Regions from separate parts of the Homo sapiens genome. Here regions 2 and 3 are each linked to region 1. Evidence: promoter capture Hi-C in 16 types of primary human blood cells and fetal thymus (Javierre and others, 2016). All regions are on one chromosome and are shown on one strand. Each heading gives the region's core, a stretch centred on a gene start or on the middle of the fragment in contact. The rest is flanking DNA. Distances are from core to core; before and after follow the strand shown. Region 1 holds the start of LSM8 (LSM8 homolog, U6 small nuclear RNA associated). Region 2 overlaps ST7 (suppression of tumorigenicity 7). Region 3 overlaps ST7 (suppression of tumorigenicity 7).

Region 1 (3,601 bases), core at 303-2,802:
ATGAAAATTCCAAAGACTTACCACAATCATTCTCCCATCTGATGTAATAACGGCAACAGTTCCTGATAACTGAATCAAAGAAAGTGTTTCTTAGGGAATGCAAATTGAAAACAGACTCTGGCAAGGGAATGATTTGAATTTTTAGAATAAATATGACAACTAGGTATAAGTATTCAACACAGCCACTAAGTTCACTACATAAAAACGTTAAAAGTTTCTTAGACGCCAAGGCAGGAGGATCACTTGAGGTGAGACCAGCTTGGGCAACACAGCGATACCCCCATCTCTATTACCCTGGCCTGGTGACCTATAGTCCCAGCTACTCAGGAGGCAGAGGCAGAGGCAGGAGGATTGCTTGGGCTCAGGAGTTCAAGGTTGCATTGAGCCATGATCAAGCCACTGCACTCCAGCCTGGGCAACAGAGTGAGACCCTCGACTCAAAAAAAGAAAAAAAAAAAAAAACTTAAAAAAAGCTTCTGTTTTTGTCTTTGTGATAATTACATGATTAAAAAAGGGAAAAAATAGAAAAAGAAAACCTCTTTCTGTATGTGATCGGTGTATCTTATCTCAAAATATCCTGGATTTTTGACACTTTTCTACTAGGAAGGTTACCAATCTATTATTTCAGGCAGGATATTTCGTTTCTTAGGCCTGTTTATTTCTAAAATGAAAAGTGGATGAGTACTAAATTAATCGATGTTGGACGATTTTCCAGCATGTTAAAAAACTGTCTTCCAGGACAGGCTTCTGTAATTCAAAAGTAAAGAAACTATATAAGCAGTGTCACAGGGTACCAATAACGCATCATTAAAAGCATTCGGTATTTAATTTTTGTCACCCAGTTTGTACCTGAGCTTAACGTAGTGTTTTTGTCCTAAGACTTTAAAACGGTAACACTTGTAAAGTCTATTTTAAGACTTCCCATGGGGTTGTTACTTGCTCCTCACTATAATCCATTACAACAGCAACCATTTTTTTTCATTCTACCAACAAGTTGGGACTTCAAGTGGTAAAGGGACAGAAACAGTCTGTGAACCATCGTTAAACTTTTTGCTATCCTCGAACGAGCAAATTATGTGAATAAAACAAGTACAAAGATTTGCAAAACTGTTGTCGCCGCCAGGACGACTGTTCATCTTATTCACAAACTTTAACACTTATGCCATAGGGAAATAGTAAGTAAGAATCAAGAGCGTACATTTTTTTTAAGACAGAAAAGTTCGGAATAATCACACTGGGTTTTTATTTGGGTTTTGCAGGCAAAATGGAAAGGACCCCTGGGCCCGCAGCAGCGGGAAGGCTCGAGGCGCCGCCGGCGAACTCTGGGTCGTTCCGGGGCCCTCATCTCCTCGCCCGCCCCCAGGATCCCGCCGAGGCCAGGCCTCCCAACCTCCCACCGATCCCCGACCGCGGCCTCTCCGCGACCCCGGCTCACGCCCGCGGCGGCCAGCTTGAGGATACGGTTGATGTAGTTCTCCAAAGCGGACGTCATGCTGTTCGGCCCGGCGGTTCCGGGTAACGCAGCGGTGCCGACAGCAAGCAGAACTGAAAGGGCGCGCCAGAACCCGGCAGCGGATAGCGCCTGCGGGTCGCAGCAAATATCGTGAGAGTTGCTGCTCCGCAGCCCTGTGAGTCGGAAATTGGGACGAACTGGCCAACCAAACAGAAGCCGCACAGCGGTGACGAGAGAGTGCGCGTGCGCAGTGTGTTTTCTCTGTAATTCTGGGCCGTGTTCCGGAAGCCTCGTAAGACAAAAGCGAACGAGAGGCGGAAAAAAGGAAGACGCTTCCTGAAGTTGGGGGTATGAGACAGAAGTTGGGGGTATGAGACAGAAGTTGGGGGAGAGTGGGTTTCCAATCCGAGTAAAAGGCAGTGTGGTGGAAGTTAACAAGAGAAAATGTTGAGACGAGGTAGAGCAGGCAGGAATAAACGAAGTAAGGTGTTTTTATTAGGAGTGAAGGAGAGAGACGAGTGCTGTTGTGTGAAACGTAGGTGCGGGTAGTTGAATCCCTAGTTTTCTGCAGCAGAAGCCGAAAATAACGCTAAAAATAAGTTCAGTTGCCCGGGACAGAGTTGCGCACGTTATAACCACACGGTGTACGCCTCTTAAGAACTCAGCAGTGAAATACACTTTCGTATGTTCTGCTTTTGTCTCTAAAAGTGTTCCAAAATGGAGGTGTTTTTACTTTTTAAAGAAACTAAATGCAAATAGGCAAAGGTGTGTGACCATCCCTTAGAAAACGAATGTCCACGCTTCTGCCACGCCAGGATGGTCTACCTTTCTTCAGGGTGAAATTAGTAAGTAAAAGGCTGCTGCAGCACCGAGAAAGGACCGATGCAGGAAGGATGCAGGAAGGCACCAAACTTGGTTCTAATCTTGGCTCTGCTAACAAATTGGTGTCATTGCACAGGTCACTTCAATTCTTCTGGGCCTCAGTTTCGTTAGATAGTCCCATAGGTATCATTTCAGATATTTCCCAATGCGATACTGTTCCCACTTCATTTACTGTTGCCCTAACTTGAGAGAGCTTGAAGTTAGAAAGAGATTTATACACAAAACACCAGCAGGAGCGATTTCCCTTTTTTGCAAAATATCTTTATAATTTCAGTTAAACATGTATTTTCTTAAGATTTGTGGCTTTGTAATAACTCTTGCAATGTCAGCAGTTTTCCTCGGAAAAGGAAGCATTTCTTAATTAGAGCATACCCACAAGATACTCCCAAATAGTTAATATTTTATATTCTGGAACTTATTCCTATCTGTTTGAAATCAAATGTAGTCAGGAATTAGATTGTGAATGTCTCATATTCTCAGGGTAACAAATGAAAGTGTCTTCCGCTAATGAAAGAACAAAGATAATTGTGTGATTTGCAAATGTTAGGTGTTGAACCAAAACCCAAAGACTAATTAATGATTAACGAGGTGTTAGGAGTTTTGTTAAAAAAAGAAATTGCTGGGCATGTTGGTGGGTTCCTGTAACCCCAGCTACTCTGGAGGGTGAGGCAGGAGAATTGCTTCAACCCGGGAGGCGGAGGTTACAGTGAGCTGAGATCACGCCATTCCACTCCAGCCTGGGCGACAAAAGCGAAACTCCATTTCAAAAACAAACAAACAAAAAAACCTCTGTGTGATCTTATAAAAATGAGGCCGGGTGCAGTTGCTAACATCTGTAATCCCAGCACTTTGGGAGGCCAAAGCGGGTGGATCACAAGGTCAAGAGATCAACACCATCCTGGCCAACGTGGTGAAACCCCCTCTCTACTAAAATACAAAGATTAGCCAGCATGGTGGCGGGCACCTGTAGTCCCATATACCAGGGAGGCAGAGGCAGGAGAACCACTAGAACCTGGGAGGTGAAGTTTGCGGTGAGCGAAGATTGTGCCACTGCATTCCAGCCTGGGCGACAGAGCGATACTCCATCTCAAAAAAAAAAAAAAAAAATGAATACTCCCTATGGCTTTTCATCCCTTAGAGTGTGCTTTTGTAAGTCTATTGCCCTGTGTAGTTGTCATTAAATTAATATGCCAGATAAATAACAGATGAACAGTGTTTATGGAGCATCACAAAATCTCTTTGGCTGGAAACTTTTTTACATGTGTC
Region 2 (3,601 bases), core at 721-3,220, 1.1 Mb after region 1:
GATCAACTGGTTACAATGGCAGGATTTTCAACTCTCACGACAATCTTTTTTTTTTTTCCCTAAGATCTCTGAAGAAGATTCTGTAACCTTCTTCAGAAAAATCATAAAATAGTTTAACAATGACCACTTGGCAAGGATAGTGTTGAGGTGATTCAAGCACCAGATGGGTGGTTCAGCTAAGTGACCTTTAAGGTCTCTGCCAACCCTGAGTTTTTATGACTCCAACTTTAAGAATCTTTCTCATTTTCTGAGATCTCCAGAAGAGATTTCCCAGCCTTCCTTGGTAACCCACAGAATGTTTAACAACACTCAAGACAGCATTTCCTCTTATCTTTGTCTTAATCTTGAAGTATTTTCTAAAATTTTTTTTTTAAACCTTATGTTGTTATCATGTTTTCCCCACTAGCAGAAGTTCTACTAGAAAATGTTCTAGTGCAGATGAGCATTCTACATCTGGAAAATTTTCCCTGTCAGAATGTTTTAGATATGTAAAGAATTGTATTTATTTTATATCCTCACAATATCCTAGGGATAGCCCTTCAAGAAATTAATTTAGGATCACAGCAAAGCCATTGAATTCATAAAATGACTAAAACCACCTCCACATGGTGGCTGTCCTTCATTTAAAAAAAAAACTTTTTTAAATAGAGTAATAACTCCCCAAATAATCCTCCAGTTCAAATGCAGTTTAATTTAAGTATCCTATCAATGGCAACTGAATATATTCAGCAAAGGATGAGATTTCCTTTTTAACAGCAAGATTTTCCCCCACTTACTCATTTATCTCCAAGGCTTCATGAGCTGCAGAAATCCTAGCTTGGGGGTTTCTCTCTCTCCAGGCTTTCTGCATTACTATTTAAGAAAAAGAGAAAACACCAAGTCAATCCATACATATAATTAGGTAGACTCAGTAGAGGACAAGAGCTAAATTAGGAGTGTCAGCTTAAATTACAAGAACATATTTCATTGCTAAGAGGGTTGGCCAAAATCTCCAAAGTCATATTAGTGTATTAATGTGCTATTCCACAGTATTTCAACTGCTGATAGCAAACCTTTTTTGTGCTCACAAAACTACAGGCTAAGGAAATCAAGAAAAGGCACTCTAACAGAGATTTTGCGTGTCTTTTGCACATTAATGTCATTTGTTCTTGGAGAATATATTTTATGCATTTTGAGATGACATTGCTACCAACCTTTTCATTCACTTAGATACAACATAATTGGTCATTTTCCGAAGCACTTAACACAGACTCTTGGTGTTAGAACATTCTGAAACCATTTCAAGAATTATGCGTGGGTCAGTAAAAAATGCTTAAGCTTTTGCTTAACATGTGTACTTATATCCCAAATTTACCTGCAAACCTAGCTTTTATACATCAGAGCAGTTTCTGAACATATGGTGGGAAGCTCAATGGGAATATTTACTGTACCATGATGTTTCTACCATAGCAAAGAGTACCATTTTACAAAGGAGTAACAATCTCCTTATTTATTTTATAAATTTGTATTTTATAAATTATTTTAGAGTGTGTAGAGGTTCCCTTTCAAAAACATTTTTTCACCTATTTACTTTGAATAAATTTTATAACAAAAAATTTCAGTTGAATTATCTGAAACTCAAGTAATGTAAAATACACACTAAACAAAGTATTTTCTCAGATGGAACACACATCTAGACTCCAATAGCCAAGGCCATGACCCCATTCGATGCTAGTTAACCTATAAATAGGCAAATAAAAGTCACTAAAATATATTCATTAATCATCTGAATCCAGTAAATTCCAATTTCTACTTTGAATATCATAAAGGAGATAAGGCCTTCATGCTAACTCAACCAAGAACTTCATTAGCTTCATATAAGATTCATATTTCTTTAAAATATATAAAACCAACTTCGATATATTTTTAAAAATCATGATTCAAATTATTATGAGGGGACTCATTTCAACATAAATACTTCATTGTGATAAAGGTTTACTTAATTATCAGAGTTCTGGGTTCTTATTAGTCAATCAACAATTTAATATTTTATTCATTGGAGTTTTACAGAGTGGATATTCTAAAAGCAGAAATCTTGACACTTAAGCCAAAAAGCCCTCCCATTCAGAAGGATGTATGGATTTTTCATACTTGCATCTGCGGGACGCAGATGGTCCGAGTCACAAGTAAAGAATGTCTGGTGGTCTTGGGCAGAGAGATTCATGTCATAGTAAGTAAGAGGCTCTCGTCCTGTCACCCAAGTATACCTGCAAAGGAGAAATAAGATGATTAGACACTTTTGAGAGAGAAAAGCAAGACCTATAAAATATTAAGCTGCAGAGGCGTTGAAATATAGACCATTAACTGAATACTAAAATAGCTTTGCTAATGAATAAAAAAAATTTTTAAAAATCATCTTATTCTCCCTTCAGGAATTATATCAGTCAAAAGAAATAAACATTTTCTCCTGTGTTTTTGTCTTAAAATTTACTAGCCCTTGCTAATGAAAACCTTCCCTAATTCATATTATGAATAGACACTTTCCTAAAGCTATGAAAATTCTAATTTGCCTAATTACTTTGCTAAACTAAATTCCAACATAACTTCTGCGACATCTCTATAACCATATTCCAGGTAAGCTTCAAAATGTTTTCAATGTATAGTATATATTGAAAAGAATAACTGTTAATACAAAAACTCTAAAAACTACACATTTTTGTACATTATCCCAAATCTAGTGCTAAAATATTTATAAAACAGAAAAATCAAAACATTTGAAGATAGTATTAAAAAATGGACGCACTACATAGACTGTTACAATGACCCCTAAATGAACCAGCAAAAACATTTGCTGCTGTCTTTGCTCTCTGAACCAGACCCATTTGTTTCCCAAGCTGTCAAAATGCTTACCGATTGTATTCAGCACCCCTAAATAAATTTAGTGGATTTCGCCATACTTTGCATTCTGCAACAAAGAGAAATATGAAAATGTTACGCGTAAGTTCAGTGACACTACAAGCTAATTAATTCAGCAAAACACCCTTCCTGCCATTTGATAAGATAATTCTATTCACTACCCTTTACATGGGAAGCAATGTGGAAAAACTCTGGGTGGTTAATCACAAAATGTGGCTCAGGCTCCGGGACTTTGGAAAGTTTTGCCTAATCTCTCTGGGCCTGAGTTTCCTCACTTGCCAAATCAAGATGCATGCCAAAATCAGCTAGTTCATAACTCCTAAAATTATTTCAAGAGGTCCAAACTGATTCTATGAATTTACTTCTAAAACCTTATAGATAAAAGTATAGGCAGAAGTAAAACTATTTTCTGTCAGTCTAAAACATACCTCATAATAACGTTGTACATGACAAGACAAACTATAGAGTATAATATGCAAACAGCCTTATAGTCTTAATTTGGGTTCATGCTAACAGTGATTTTATGATAATTTACCAGTTTGCTTTTGCCTTACAGGAAAGGAATAAGAAAATTAATAAGATTACCATATTGTAGGAAGAAATGCAATTAAAAGAAATTGTCTCAAAGCATTTTAATATCATTTACTTGCACAGATACATATACTAATCATCATACTAATATCATCATGTTAGCACATCCTAATAG
Region 3 (3,601 bases), core at 666-3,165, 1.0 Mb after region 1:
CAACTATAGGAGTCATTACCTTACAGCCTGTATTTAGAATTGATGGCCAAGTGAGACGGCTGGAAAGGGAGTGTCACAGGGAAGAATGGAGGCCCAGGCAGAGGCTGCAGCCCTCCAGCACTGAGAAGCTGCAGGCAGGAAGAGCCAGGGAAAAGATGGAGAAGGAGCAGATGGAGAGGCAGAAGAGAAATTACACAAGTGAGAGACCCAGACAGCAGGAAAGAGTGTTCCAGGAGGGAAGTAACTGAAAAGAGGTTACAACTGAAATGCCAAACTGGCCACCTGAAGAGCTTAAAAAAGCTAAAACCAGAAACAGAAGAGTCAAGAGAAGATGGAACACTATGAAGAATTTTTAGGCAATGTAAAGCTTATGGAATATGGGTAACTGCATGAAAAGAGTGGACAACATTACCTCCTAAAATACTTTCAGGGAGAGATTCAAACAAAAAGGAAACAGAATCCCTGAGGACCTCAGCACTTGAAGGCATGAGGCACAGAAGAAGCCAGAGAACAAGACTGGGTTTAAGTCTATACCCATAGTGACTAGACACTCCAGTTTCTCCTTCCCACCTCAGACAACCACGAAACCAGGGATATCAGGCAGAGTGAGGGACTGAGCGAGGCCTGGTGCTAACAACAGAATAATTAAGGTGACAGTCTGGATAATGAACGACACAGCTCTGTCTCCCAACCTGATCCCAGAAACACTGGCAGTCAGGTGTATAGTCCACAAGGAAAAGACCTGACGATCTTTCCATGGAGGAAATGAACCACCACAGAAAAAAAGATCCAGGTACTGACATTTGAGGGCAGTGTGTGATTAAATGATAAGCCAGTTGCCCGGGCAACCACAAGTAAACCCTATCAGGCAATCATCCCTAGATAGAAACATACAGCCTCCAAAAGCTTTTTGGTGCTTGGTTTTAAATGTTAACATTTAGCCAAGGATAACTAGACTTCTGAAGTAAGTTCCTCCAATTAAAAAAAGAAAAAGGAGGAAAGACACAGTAAAAGAAGCAGAACCAAGTTTTAAGAAAAACAAAAAAACCACAGCTATCCATCCAAATTAGAATAAAATGTCAATGGGCTCAAAAAACAATGCCTTCAAAAAAAAAAAAAAAAAAAAAAAGGTAGGACACGGACAGTCAAGGTGATAAAATGAAATACTTGCATATAGCAAAAATTGGAGGGTGAGAATACCTCTACACACCTAAATGCCAGAGGAGCCCATCAGAGTAGGAGCAGAGAGCATCTCTCCAATGAAAACTTGAGAAGGGCCCCTCCTGACCCTCCATGGAACAATAAGAAATCATGAATCAAGAGTGGAAAATGGGACAGTGATACATTAAGCTGTAAGGACAGCCCACCTGATTTAAAGAAATGGGTGTTTAGGGGTAGGAAGGTCGGTGGTAACTATCTTTACTCTGTTTAGGCAGTAATGATTTTACTGGTGAAAGAGTAAAGATGTCCTACTAGAGCCTAAGCTTGTATTTAAATGGCTCAGTGGGAGGTCCCAGAAAGCAGGTTTGTGTACCTGAGGATTCTTGAGTCACAAAGGTAACTTCCCCAGGCCCAAGGAGAGGGCAAAGGCTAACCAGGGTATCTGCTCTTAACAAGCAGTAGAGATAGCGGTCCAGGAAGAAGGATATGATCAACGCTTTTGCATTGATTATTTAAAAGGGAAACCCAGGAGACCCAATTCATTGTCCTCCCTGGTCATCGCATGCATTGCTGGCTTTGCCTGTTTTCTGGTTTCTGTTCCTGGTGGCCCAGGTCTGAAATAAGTCTGTTTCCAGTGATCACCTCTCTGCTTACCCTAGAAATCAACAACTTCACTGGCTTCTGCTCACAGAAGCAACCCTGCCAGCCCAGCAGAAACTCAGACATCAGTGCTCCCCACACATCTCACAGAAGGAAAAGCTGTTCACAAATGTCCATGGTTGCCTCCTGATTTAGGGTGGGAAGCAGGGCACCATATGCTAAATTAATTCTATCATTTGGGAATAATTTATAGATATTGACATAGTGATAGGCTTAGTAACTGATCAAGAACCATAAATATAAGTATGGATCTTAGTGAGTTGGGAATATCAGAAGAATAAAACAGAAATTTAAAATGTTGAATCAGTGGAAGATATTTTCAATGGGAGAGAAAGTACGACATAGAAAACATGAAAGACAGCACACACGCTCAAAAAAAGCAGTAATTATTCTGTTACTCTCTATAAACACGAATGGGATAAACATAGCAATCAAAAGTATAAAACCCTCAGATTTGAATAAAGACAATATTCATCAAAAATTTTACAGATCCAAATGATCCATCAAAAACTTATAGGAAGCTTGATTATAAAATTTAGACAACAATAAACCAGTTAAATATGAATCACAATAAGTTAGAGTAGGTATTCTTAACATATGTTAAAAAATTCAAGGAAGATAAATATAAGAGACATTATATACTCATAATAACATATCAGTAAGTCATAATAATCACCAACATAAACGCACCCAACAACAAAACCTCAAAATATATAAAGGAACAAATAACTGAGCATGCAAAAAACAGATTAATAAACAGTTGGAGGTGAATATTCTATCACATTCTTCTTAGAAACTGATAGAGCAAAGAGACAAAATAAGCTGATATATGAGATTTGAATAATATGGTTTATAAGCTCAAACTAGTAAATACATACAAATCTTTATACCCAACAGGGATTATATTCCCTTCAAACACAGATATAACATTTATTAAACCTGACCATATGCTAGGCCTCAGGGGAAGTGACCATAAATTCTCCCCAAATCAATATCATATGATGTATGCTTTCTAAGCATAATGTAAAGAAAAAAATCAATCAATGACGAGGGGTAAAACATACTATACAGGGTAAAATGAAATTTAAAAGAAATTTAAAAATGCTTAGGATCAAATGGTAAAAAGGCAACAAACACAGAGGATAGAGGGGGAGAAGGATGAGGAGGAGAAGAAACAATAATACAAATATGGAAAGAAAAAACAGAATAAAAACAAAAAAGTTGAGGAAATAAACTAAACCTAATTGTTTTTAAAAGACTGGCAAAATAGACAACCTCTGCCAAGACTAATCAGGCAAAATAAGAGTAAAAACTAGCCAAATAAAATACAAAATGAAAAGGAAGAAAAAAACTACATAGTATTTTTAAATTATGAAATAACATCATGAAAAGCTATATGTAATAAATTTTTAAAATATATAAATATGTATATTAAATATAGACGTGCTTGAAGCAGAGCCTAGTACTGAGATACATGGGCATAGTCAGGTATTGCTCGTAAGAATTTAATCATAGGCAGCCATTCTGAAGAGTGAAATTGCAGGACTCACTGGAATCTAGCACGTATATAATCCCACAGCCTAATGAATGTTTCTCACATGTCTACAAGGATGTTCATTGCAGCACTGCTGGGATAACAGGAAGTTGGAAGAAACCTGGAGTTCCTTCACTAGAGGAAAGGTTAAGTAAAATAGAGTAAGAACACAACATGGAATATGATGCAGCAGTTAGAAACTGCAAACTAGATGCAAGAGGTACATAGAGCAAAAATGGACAGATT

The links. Contacts are between HindIII fragments. The CHiCAGO score rates a contact against its expected background, and 5 or more counts as called.
Region 2: a contact is called between a fragment that was not itself captured here and the fragment with the promoter of LSM8 in region 1, in 2 of 17 cell types (activated CD4 T cells and total B cells). The highest score is 6.7, in activated CD4 T cells.
Region 3: a fragment that was not itself captured here is called in contact with the fragment with the promoter of LSM8 in region 1 in 1 of 17 cell types (monocytes); the score reaches 7.0 in monocytes.

What each region holds. Positions count from the first base shown.
Region 1 is chr7:118,182,115-118,185,715 of GRCh38, reverse strand. LSM8 (LSM8 homolog, U6 small nuclear RNA associated) reads right to left here and starts at 1,552. Exons shown (of 4, transcript NM_016200.5): 1 at 1,462-1,552; 2 at 22-62. The coding sequence starts at 1,492. LOC105375470 (a long non-coding RNA gene) reads left to right here and starts at 1,748. Exons shown (of 4, transcript XR_927904.3): 1 at 1,748-1,801. The HindIII fragment of the contact is 4,305 bases long and covers 476-3,601 here.
Region 2 is chr7:117,129,136-117,132,736 of GRCh38, reverse strand. ST7 (suppression of tumorigenicity 7) reads right to left here. Exons shown (of 16, transcript NM_001369598.1): 4 at 2,890-2,944; 5 at 2,131-2,246; 6 at 777-852. All of the region lies in intron 2 of ST7-AS2 (ST7 antisense RNA 2), which reads left to right. Among named protein-coding and RNA genes, the nearest start is that of ST7-AS2, 15 kb to the left of the region's middle. The HindIII fragment of the contact is 1,301 bases long and covers 1,320-2,620 here.
Region 3 is chr7:117,147,121-117,150,721 of GRCh38, reverse strand. All of the region lies in intron 9 of ST7 (suppression of tumorigenicity 7), which reads right to left. Among named protein-coding and RNA genes, the nearest start is that of ST7-AS2, 3.3 kb to the right of the region's middle. The HindIII fragment of the contact is 858 bases long and covers 1,487-2,344 here.